Regions from separate parts of the Homo sapiens genome. Here region 1 is linked to region 2. The links are contacts of gene promoters, found by promoter capture Hi-C in blood cells and fetal thymus (Javierre and others, 2016). All regions are on one chromosome and are shown on one strand. The core of a region is centred on a gene start or on the middle of the fragment in contact, and the rest is flanking DNA. Distances in the headings are between cores, read along the strand shown.

The links. Contacts are between HindIII fragments. The CHiCAGO score rates a contact against its expected background, and 5 or more counts as called.
Region 1: a fragment that was not itself captured here is called in contact with the fragment with the promoter of APBB1IP in region 2 in 10 of 17 cell types (total CD8 T cells, naive CD8 T cells, non-activated CD4 T cells and 7 more); the score reaches 8.7 in total CD8 T cells.

The regions. Positions count from the first base shown.
Region 1 is chr10:26,526,247-26,531,600 of GRCh38, forward strand. The region is part of intron 8 of APBB1IP (amyloid beta precursor protein binding family B member 1 interacting protein); the gene reads left to right. Among named protein-coding and RNA genes, the nearest start is that of LINC03028, 50 kb to the right of the region's middle. RefSeq lists a silencer at 3,219-3,268. The HindIII fragment of the contact is 2,015 bases long and covers 1,950-3,964 here.
Region 2 is chr10:26,435,838-26,440,782 of GRCh38, forward strand. APBB1IP (amyloid beta precursor protein binding family B member 1 interacting protein) reads left to right here and starts at 2,504. Exons shown (of 15, transcript NM_019043.4): 1 at 2,504-2,618; 2 at 2,815-3,016. RefSeq lists enhancers at 1,821-2,350, 2,068-2,197, 2,758-2,837. The HindIII fragment of the contact is 5,297 bases long and covers 57-4,945 here.

The sequences.
Region 1 (5,354 bases), core at 1,707-4,206, 91 kb after region 2:
TTGGTAAAGTCAGTTCATGTAAGGCACAACCTTACATAAGGTAAAGTCAGTTCACGTAAGGCGCAAACTTACATGAGGTAAAGTAAGTTCATGTAAGATTGTGCCTCAAGTAATTTCCTCAGATAAGTTCCTTACTGTGCTACTTTTTATTTATTCTAATAACTTTCTTTTGCTAACTTAAAAATAATATCTGGCCAGGCATGGTGGCTCACGCCTGTAATCCCAGCACTTTGGGAGGCCGAGGCAGGCAGATCACGAAGTCAGGAGATCAAGACCATCCTGGCCAACATGGTGAAACCCTGTCTCTACTAAAAATACAAAAACAAGTCGTGCATGGCGGCGTGTGCCTGTAGTCCCAGCTACTCGGGAGGCTGAGGCAGGAGAATCGCTTGAACCCGGGAGGCGGAAGTTGCGGTGAGCCGAGACCACACCATTGCACTCCAGCCTGGGCAACAGAGTGAGACTCTGTCTCAAAATAATAATAATAATAATAATATCAATTTATCATAAAAGGAAAAGTTGGAAAATTCAGAAAAATATAAGGAAGGAAATCTAAATCACCCATAATCTCACTCTTTAACAATAATCACTATTGATATTTTAGGCAACTTTTATTCCACAGATTATTCTGTTTCTTAACTGAAATTTGATGATGATTATACTCTACTGGTGGCTGCATGAGTGAGGAGCAGAGACAGAAACACAACTTCTTTGCCCAGGTGTAGAAGTGTCTCAGCCACAGCCTGGCAGCTATTGTGGGAGAAAAGTATTAATACCTTGTGGCATCATTCTTCCATTCCCTTCCAGCCTCCCTCAGCCCACCAAGGGCAGTCTCTGACCATCCAGGACCAGGTGTGGTTAGAAGGAAAGTTATACAGTAATCACCTTTATGGTCCCCAGCATGGGCTAATGTGTTAAAGGAAGGTCTACCCATGACTTCGGTGCCCTGGATCCTCTCACCAGCCAGTGTGGGCGTGTGTGATTAGTCAGTGTATTGATGCATGAAAGGCAACCTTAGAGGCCAGGCATGGTGGCTCACACCTGTAATCCCAACACTTTGGGAGGCAGAGCAGGAGGATCACTTGAAATCTGGAATTCAAGACCAGCCTGGAAAACATAGTGAGATCCCAGTTTCTGCAAAAATCAAACAATTAGCTGGGTGTGATGGCATGCACTTGTGGTCCCAGCTACTCAAGAGGCTGAGGTGGGAGGATCATTTGAGCTCAGGAGTTCAAGGCTGCAGTGAGCTATGATCCACTGCACTCCAGCCTGGGCAACAGAGCAATACCTTGTCTCAAAAAAAAAAAAAAAAGAAAAAAATACTATCTCAGAATCCCACTGGTTTGCAGAAACAGACATTTCCTCTCTCCAGGGTCTGCAGGCTCCCTGTCCTTAGCTCCAGAGTATGACTTAGACTTAGATTTAGGTAGGTCCATGTCTTTTTTTTTTTTTTTTTTTTTTTTGAGATGGAGTTTTGCTCCTGTGGCCCAGGCTGGAGTGCAATGGCACGATCTCGGCTCACTGCAACCTCTGCCTCCCGGGTTCAAGCGATTCTGCTGCCTCAGCCTCCCAAGTAGCTGAGATTACAGGCATGTGCCACCAGGCCCGGCTAATTTTGTATATTTAGTAGAGATGGGGTTTCACCATCTTGGCCAGGCTGGTCTCGAACTCCTGACCTCAGGTGATCCAACAGCCTTGGCCTCTCAAAATGCTGGGATTACAAACATGAGCCGCTGCGCCTGGCCCCACGCCTCTCTTATTGTCCCTGGATAGCACAGAACTCTGACATATTCTTCCCACGGTCAATGGGAAGAGTACAGGCAAATGACAGAAACACACTCTGCACCTCAAGCTCTCTGCTTAGAATCCATGCATCGTCCCATCTGCCACATTCTTTTGGTCAAAGCAAGTCACATGGCCAAACCCAACGTAAGTGAAGCAAGGAAATAAGCTTCACCCATTCTGGGGGAAGTTACTGCCCAGTCACCTGACAGCGAGCAGAGAACTGGGAGCGATGGTCTGATCTTCACTCAGTGAACTGCATTAACCCCATAGCTCTAGCCTGACTGGCTGCTCACTAGTGCTCCAAAGACACCTCTGTGCCTTTGTGCATGCTTGTTCTCCTCCCTGGAAATCTATTCTTATTCTTTTTTTCCCTACCAGAACATTGAACAGCTTTCAAGGCCTCGTTCAAACTTTGACCCCCTCTGTAAAGTTTTTCTTGACCATCGCAGTCCATAGTAATTTCTTCCTTCCTGAAAATCTCTAGACTGTGGCTCATTTTGAATTTTTGTAGTCTCTTATATCTTCCCCATTGACAGATATAGAGTCATCTGTCCATCTCACTATGATCGATCTGTATTTATCTTCTCCATGTGATAGCAACCTTCTTAAGAACAGGGATTTGAGGCCAGGCATGGTGGCTCACGCCTGTAATCCCAGCACTTTGGGAGGCCGAGGCAGGTGAATCCCTTGAACTCAGGAGTTTCAAACCAGCCTGGGCAACATAGCAAGACCCCATCTCTACAAAAAATTTAAAAATTAGCTGACCATGGTGGCATGTGCCTGTAGCCCCAGCTACTTGCAAGGCTGAGGTGGGAGAATTGCTTGAACCTGGGAGGCGGAGGTTGCAGTGAACCATGATCACGCCACTGCACTCCAGCATAGGTGACAGAGTGAGATATGTCCCTCCCCAAAGAAAGAACAGGGATGTTTTACATGTATAAAGGGTACTCACAAATATTTCTTCACGAACTGATAACTGTTTGCTTGATTTACTCTTTATTCCAAGAAGATTTTTAAAAAGTATTTGCTGTTTCTTTCCTATCCAGCTGTCCCCAAATGTTGCACTCCCAGAAGCTGTGAGAAAAGAGAGCAAGCTATGACCAAGAGTCTCATTTCCCATTTTAAAGTTCCTTTATTATTCGACTCAGGTTTACCCAGTTTCCATTTGCAGGATATAATGACTAAACGTTGAGTTCTGCTCACTACTTCTACAGAACAGCCCGCATTGAGTGGGCGCCCACACCGCAGGTGGAAGTTCCGATCCGAAAGCAATCAGTCTTATTATTCTAAGAATTATTCTTATTCTAAGGACTGCCCTCCTCCAGCACAGATTTGCTTTGTGTTTTTTGCTATTTCATTAAAAGAAAAAACAAAAACAGTGTAGCATGGTCACTTAGAAGGATATTCTGAAGCTGAAAAAGTCAGAAGTATGTCAGAGAAAGTTCTCAGAGAAAGGTACAGCTATACATCCTGCCTCTTTAGGGCACCCTGGTGAAATGTGGCCCTTCACAGTTTAGACAGGTTCTTCCCTGCAGAGGGTGACAGATGCTCTGTCTTTCCCAGATAAGGATGATGACAAACACTTGCTCTGGAGTCTTTTTTTTTCTTTTAATTTTTCCTTTTTCCTGAGATGGAGTCTTGCTTTGTCACCCAAGCTGGAGTGCGGTGGGATGATCTCAGCTCACTGTAACCTCCACTTCCCAGTCTCAAGTGATTCTTCTGCCTCAGCCTCCCTAGTAGCTGGGATTACAGGCGCCCACCACCAAACCCAATTAATTTTTGTATTTTTAGTAGAGACAGGGTTTTGCCATGTTAGCCAGGCTGGTCTCGAACTGCTGACCTCAGGTGATTCACCCACCTTGGCCACCCAAAGTACTGGGATTACAGGCGTGAGCCACCGCACCCGGGTTTGGAGTCTTCATTATGCTCTCTGTTCATGCTTCCAGTTCATCATACGTGATTCAAATATCTGGCCTTCCTAAGCCAAGGTTTGCTTTCTAGCAGCACCTTGAAATCACTCTTGTATGAATGGGCGAACTCATATTGGGTCACATCTTTTGTTATTGTGGAAAAATATATGTAACATAGGACTTATCATCTTAACCATTTTTAAGTGTACCCTTCTGTGGTATTAAGTACATTCACATTGCTGTGCTAGATTCTCCCCTATGGTACTTAAAGCTTTTTTTTCTTTTTCTTTTTTTTTTTTTTTTTGAGACGAGGCCCCCACTGTGTGACCCAGGCTGGACTCAAACACCTGGGCTCAAGTGATCTTCCTGCCTCAGCCTCTGGAGTAGCTGGGACTACAGGTGCATGCCATTATGCCCGGCTCTGTACTTAAGAGTATTTTAATGCTGAGAAAAATTATTTAATAACTTGGCCAGGTATGGTGGCTCACGCATGTAATCGCAGCACTTTGGGAGGCCGAGGCGGGCAGATCACAAGGTCAGGAGATCGAGACCATCCTGGCCAACATGGTGAAACCCCGTCTCTACTAAAAATACAAAAATTAGCTGAGCGTGGTAGTGCGTGCCTGTAATCCCAGCTACTCGGGAGGCTGAGGCAGGAGAATTGCTTGAACCCAGGAGTTGGAGGTTGCAGTGAGCCGAGATCGCGCTACTGCACTCCACCCTGGCGACAGAGCAAGACTCTGTCTCAAAAAAAAAAAAAATTATTTAATAACTCAACGTTCTGCCACTAATCGGCCTTGGGAAAATCACTTAATCCTCTGTGTCCTCATCTGTAAAGTAGCAATAGCAATGGTACCTATGTTACGGGGTTCTTGTGAGGATGAAATAAAATCGTATCTGTAAAGCCTTAGCATAGGTTTCCAGCAGGTAGAATATGTTACCTAATATGGCTAGTCGTGGTCTTCAAGCAAAACATTTAAGATTTAAATAGTTTTCTGAATTCTATATTGTAATTGCACTAATTCACAATATAACATCCTTTCAAATAACAAATAAAAGTTTAAAAGTCTTGGAAAAACATATTAAAATAAACTTCTTTTCAATAAGAATTACCAAAAGAATTGTACTTGGCCAGGCGTGGTGGTTTATGCCTGTAATCCTAGCACTTTGGGAGGCTGAGGGGGGCAGTTTGAGACCAGCCTGGCCAACATTAAAAAACCCCATTTCTACTAAAAATACAAAAAGTTAGCTGGGCATGGTGGTGCACACCTGTAATCCCAGCTACTTGGGAGGATGAGGAAGGAGAATCCCTTGAACCCAGGAGGCAGAGGTTTCAGTGAGCCAAGATTGCACCACAGCACTCCAGCCTGGGTGACAGAGCAAGACGCTGTCTCAAAAAAACAAAAAAAATTGTGCTTGACTTATTTCCTCTATTTAAGTTAGCAGCCAGGCGCGGTGGCTCATGCCTGTAATCCCAGCACTTTGGGAGTCCGAGGCAGGCGGATCACGAGGTCAGGAGATCGAGACCATCCTGGCTAACATGGTGAAACCCCATCTCTACTAAAAATACAAAAAATTAGCCGGGCGCGATGGCGGGCGCCTGTAGTCCCAGCTACTCGGGAGGCTGAGGCAGGAGAATGGCATGAACCTGAGAGGCGG
Region 2 (4,945 bases), core at 1,254-3,753:
TCCTACCACCTTGGCCTCCTAAAGCACTGATATTACAGGCATGAGCAACTGTGCCAAGCTTTGGTTTTATTTTGAAAACTGTATCTTGATTCCAAACTCTTCTCACCATATCTACTGTTAGAATACTAATAAAGCTACTATCATTTTTCATCTGGACTCTGACCATAGTCTACTGAGGAATCTCTCTTCTCTTGCTTCAATCAATTGATTTTCTGAACAATCACCAACTGGCAGGATGGCTTATCGCTTAAGTCAAATCATGCACTCAGTTGCTAAATACATTCCAATAGTCCCCCATTGCAATTAGAATAAAACCTAAAGTCCTCAATGCTGGCTACAAGGTCCTGCTTGTTCTGGTTCCTGCTTACCTCTCTGTCCCCATCCACTATTGCTGCCCTACTCTTTCAGAACATTCCAGGCACACTGGCCTGCCTTCTTTTGAACTTTCTATGTTCCTATCTCAGCCCCTCTTCTTGTTCTTCCTTCTCTTGGAATCCTTTCCCAAGTTTCTGAATGGCTGCCCCTTCTCATTACTTTGTAAAGAGGTGATCCTTGACCACTTTCCCTGCCCCAAGAAAGTCACTCTCATTGTTTGATTTTATATTTTATGTAGCACTTACAACTCTGCTCAGAACCTTCCACTGGCTTTCCATCTCACTCACATCAAATTCTCTTCCACAGCTCCCAAATAGCACACAATCTGGGCACCATTTCCTTTTGATCCCATCTCATGTCTGTCCCTCCCATCTCACTCTGCTCAGCCGTACTAATTTCCTTGGTGTTTTTCCAATATCTTAAGTGCTCTCCTAACTCAGGGTCTTTGAATGTGCTGTTCCTTTTGCCTGGAATATTCCCATCTAAAAACCCAGTGTGGATTAATCTCTCATGCCATTTAGATCTAGCTCAAGTGTCACTTATCAGACAGAAATACCAGTTTCAGGTGTTTCTGTCTATTGGGAGACTGCCTTTCCCTGGTGCTATATTAAAAAAAATTAGGATAAATAAATAATAAATAAATAAATGAAAAATACATTTTCTCTTCCTTATGATTTTATTAATAACAGTTTCTTTTCTCTGGCTTACTTTATTATAAAAATACAGTATTTAATATATATAAAATAATATGAGTTAATCGACTATGTTATCAGTAAGGCTGATAACAACTGCTTGATCATCACCTGATGGTCACCTGACATTCCTGGTAGGGGGTGGGAGGAGCCCTCTCCTGCCCTGCTCATGCCTGACTAGCTACCTACTGTAACAGAACAATGCCAGATTTCAGGAGTACCAAACTGCTGCACAATTGAAAATCCATGTATGTCTTTTGACTCCCCCAAAACTTAACCACGAATAGCCTACTGTTGACCAGAAGCCTTACTGATAATATTAAACAGTCAATTAACACATATTATGTTATATGTATTTAGATAAATACTGTATTTTTACAATAAAGAAAGCTAGAGAAAAGAAACTGTTATTAAGAAAATCATGAGGAGAAAATATATTTTCTATTTATTTATCGTTTATTTACCCTAATTAATACAGCAACCCCATCCCCATGCCCATCACTCTCTATCCCTCACCTTTTAACTTCCTTCAAAACTAGTTACATTCCTTGACATGTTAAATATTAATTTGTTTATTGTCTGCTTTCTACCAACTAGAATGCACCATGCATGAGAGCAGAAATTGTTTCCTCTAACTATTTTCATTGTTCTTAGAAGTGTTGGTGCTTACGAATAGTTTCTCATTAAATAAATGACAGAACTATTTGAAATTGCCTAATTAACACATGCACCTAATTTCTGTCTTTATGTCTTCACCACCTTCCCTGACATATAAGCCTTTGAAGACACAGCTGTAGAGGAGAAGGGGAGGGTTATTCAACCGCATTTACAAATCATAACTGATTTTAACTTCTGTATTTTCAGACCTCCCCAGCGACTTTCTCTCAGGAAACTCCACTCCCAACTGACAGGTGCTATTTCCAGCCAGTCCTATGCTGTTGCAAATAGTGAGTCCATGAATGCCCTCTGCCGTGTGCATTACTTATTTTCATCAGCAGATCTTCGTAACACACTCCTGGAAGTGGGATGACGGGGTCAAAAGGCGAATCCATACATAAGTTAAATAGATATTGCTCAATTCTCTTCCACGGGGTTCAGACCATTTTGGATTTCTACGAGCAATGAAGACAGTGCTATTCCTCTACACCCTGGCCGGCCAACTGAGCGTGGTTAAACGTGGGGAGGGAGGAGGGTGAGGTTACCAACCTGATGGTTGAGAAAGGGCCTCCGCCCAGCGCGCCCTTCCTCCACCCCCACCCGAGAGACAGCTGAACTCCGGCCGGGACGCGCGTGTTGCCAGTCCAGCCCTGCACCGCGTCCCCTGAGGGCGGGCTGCAGGCGGCCGGGAAGCCTTGCACAACCGGCCCAAAAGAGGAAGCCCAGAAAGTGCTGAAGTAAACACTTTGGGAGACCGTTGCAACATAAAGCGGCCTCTCAGTCTTTGGTGGAACCATCACTAGGCCCCAATCCCTTAGTCCCTCTTGCGTCGAGGCTGCAAAATGGTTCCATTCGCCAGGAGACGCTCCTGAGAGAAGGGCGCGCGCGGCACAGGTAGGGGGAGGCGCAACGTTTCCCAGAATTAAAATAAAATAAAATAAAATAAAATAAAAATCCCTTCAAGGTGGTTGTGTAGTAGGGGTGGGATGGGGGAGAGAAAATCAGGCGCAGACTCGATGAGTTGGAGAAAGCAGCCCCTAACTCGGAGTCCTTTACGCATATGTTTGTCTGTCCCACTGTCTCTAACCAGGGGCCTTCCTTGCACCTCGGAGCAAAGCAGCTCGGATAGCGCCACACGTCTGCGCGCTGCGTGGGAAGGGCAGGGCTGACAGCACTTCCTCCCCGGGGCAGCGACCTGGAGCCCGGGTGCGGCAGTCTGCACCGCGCGTCGCTTTCCCGGCCGGAGTCTCGCCGCCTTCCCGCGCCCCGCAGCGCCCCGCAGAGCAGTCGAGGTAAGTGGCGCTCCCAGTCCCGGGAGCCCTGGGAGCGCCAGCACGGGCCCCTCGGGGCTGTCAGGAACCCGTTTGTCAAGCCCGTCGGGTCCGACGCCGGGGGCAGCTCCAGGATCTGGCCTCGTGAACGCGTGCCCCCAGGCGTGGCCCTCGAGCGCAGCGGGTCCCCAGGGTCCCCTCCGCTGATCTCCACTCTGGACCCGGCTCGCGAGGGTGGGGGTGTGAGGGTTTGGGGTTCGGGTTTGCTTTTTCCCGAGCTATTGCAACAGATTTGACAGATTTCCTGCCCAGGAAATTGCTGCAAGGTCAAACGGGGAACTGCTATGAACCCTTGCACGTCCAGCAGGTCAGCAGGTCAGCAGGTCAGCAGGTCCGGGAGCCCCAGTCTCCCGGAACCTGGAGGGATTCTTGAGGGGCCAAGATTAGATGTGGATTAAATGCCAGCCGTGTGAGAATTTGAGTGTGGCTCGCAGTCTGATGCATCTTAGAGTGTTTCCTTCCTCTAAAACTTTTGGACAACTCTTTCCTCTTTTTAAAAATAACTTTTTCCCCCGAATATTCTCATTTTCATTTTAAAATACCATAAAGATAGATTTGGACACCAGGCACAAGTTTCATAATTTGGCTTGAAATGAATATCCAGAGGGCCTTTTACAGAATGGAGGAAACTAACTAGGGTGTCCTAATGTCTCCAAGAACCTCTGCGCAGGTGTTCCACCAAAGACCTAGCCCGGTGTACCTCTTACTTTCCTGCTAAGGTATTTCTTAGTTCATACCCCTGTGGAACGTGAAATGTGTTTCCTAGACACTCAGGGCATAGCGGTTCAAAAGAACTTTTAATGTGATCCTTGACGAGACGGAGTACTAGAGGAAAGTAACAAAAGAAAAGGGCCCGTGAGTTTATTATGCCCCCAGATGTTTTTTTCTGGTGGCATAACGTGGTTTAAACAAAGGTGCCGGTACTAGCTACTATTCATTTTAAAATCTGGGTCTCCAGAGAGAAATTTCAGAAAGGAAAACTTTGTCCTTTTTCATAAACCTAGAGCAGCGATTTTCCCTCTGGCCTCACTGGAATAATGGGTGGCACATGGGCCAGGACGATGATGCTGGCTGGCGAAATTAGCAAGGATCTGCTGAGAAATACTTTATAAAGTCTTCTAGTGGTATTTCCTGTCTGCTCAACGTGTGTTGTGAAAGGTCTAAGAAATTTAACTTCATCCTTAAACTATTAATAATGTGTGTCCTTAAACTATTAATCCTTAAACTATTAATAATTACTAATATTTGGGTTTTTTCTCAGCACTTGGGAGACCTGGGTTCTGGCTCTTATATCTCCCCCATCTAGATAAGGATGATATTGATTAACTTGCATAACTTCTCCCTGGACTTCAGATAACGTCAGTAAAGTGAGATGATTGGGCTACATTATGTCTGTTCTTAAAATAGCAATTGAGGAGTTGCTATAATTCTTTGAATTGGTCCCAACTGGAATACTGGCAACATTATATCAACATTAGAATTGCTGATCACAAATTTTTTAAAAATGGAGAAAATAATCATAACCATAACAGATTACATTCTGAAATATCAATATCTTTGAGGTCTTTTGTTTCTGAGAAGTTCCTGTAAAAGCGCAGTCAATATCTGGCCTATATGTAAAAAGGCAAATTTCCATCTTATTTGAAAACTGAGATAAGAAACAGCCCAAACTTGAACAGGTCAATATTATATTTTGAAATCTTTAAATTGCTATTTCTCAAGAAATATAACTTTGTAATATGAATTACTTTATGGCATTACTTTAAATCTTAAACACAATACTAGGTTTTATAGTATTTATTACATTTTTTGTATTTTTATATCCTAAGAATGTTCACCAGTTATCCACTATTGATTTGCCTTTTTTCACTCATCAATCAAAGTTTTAAA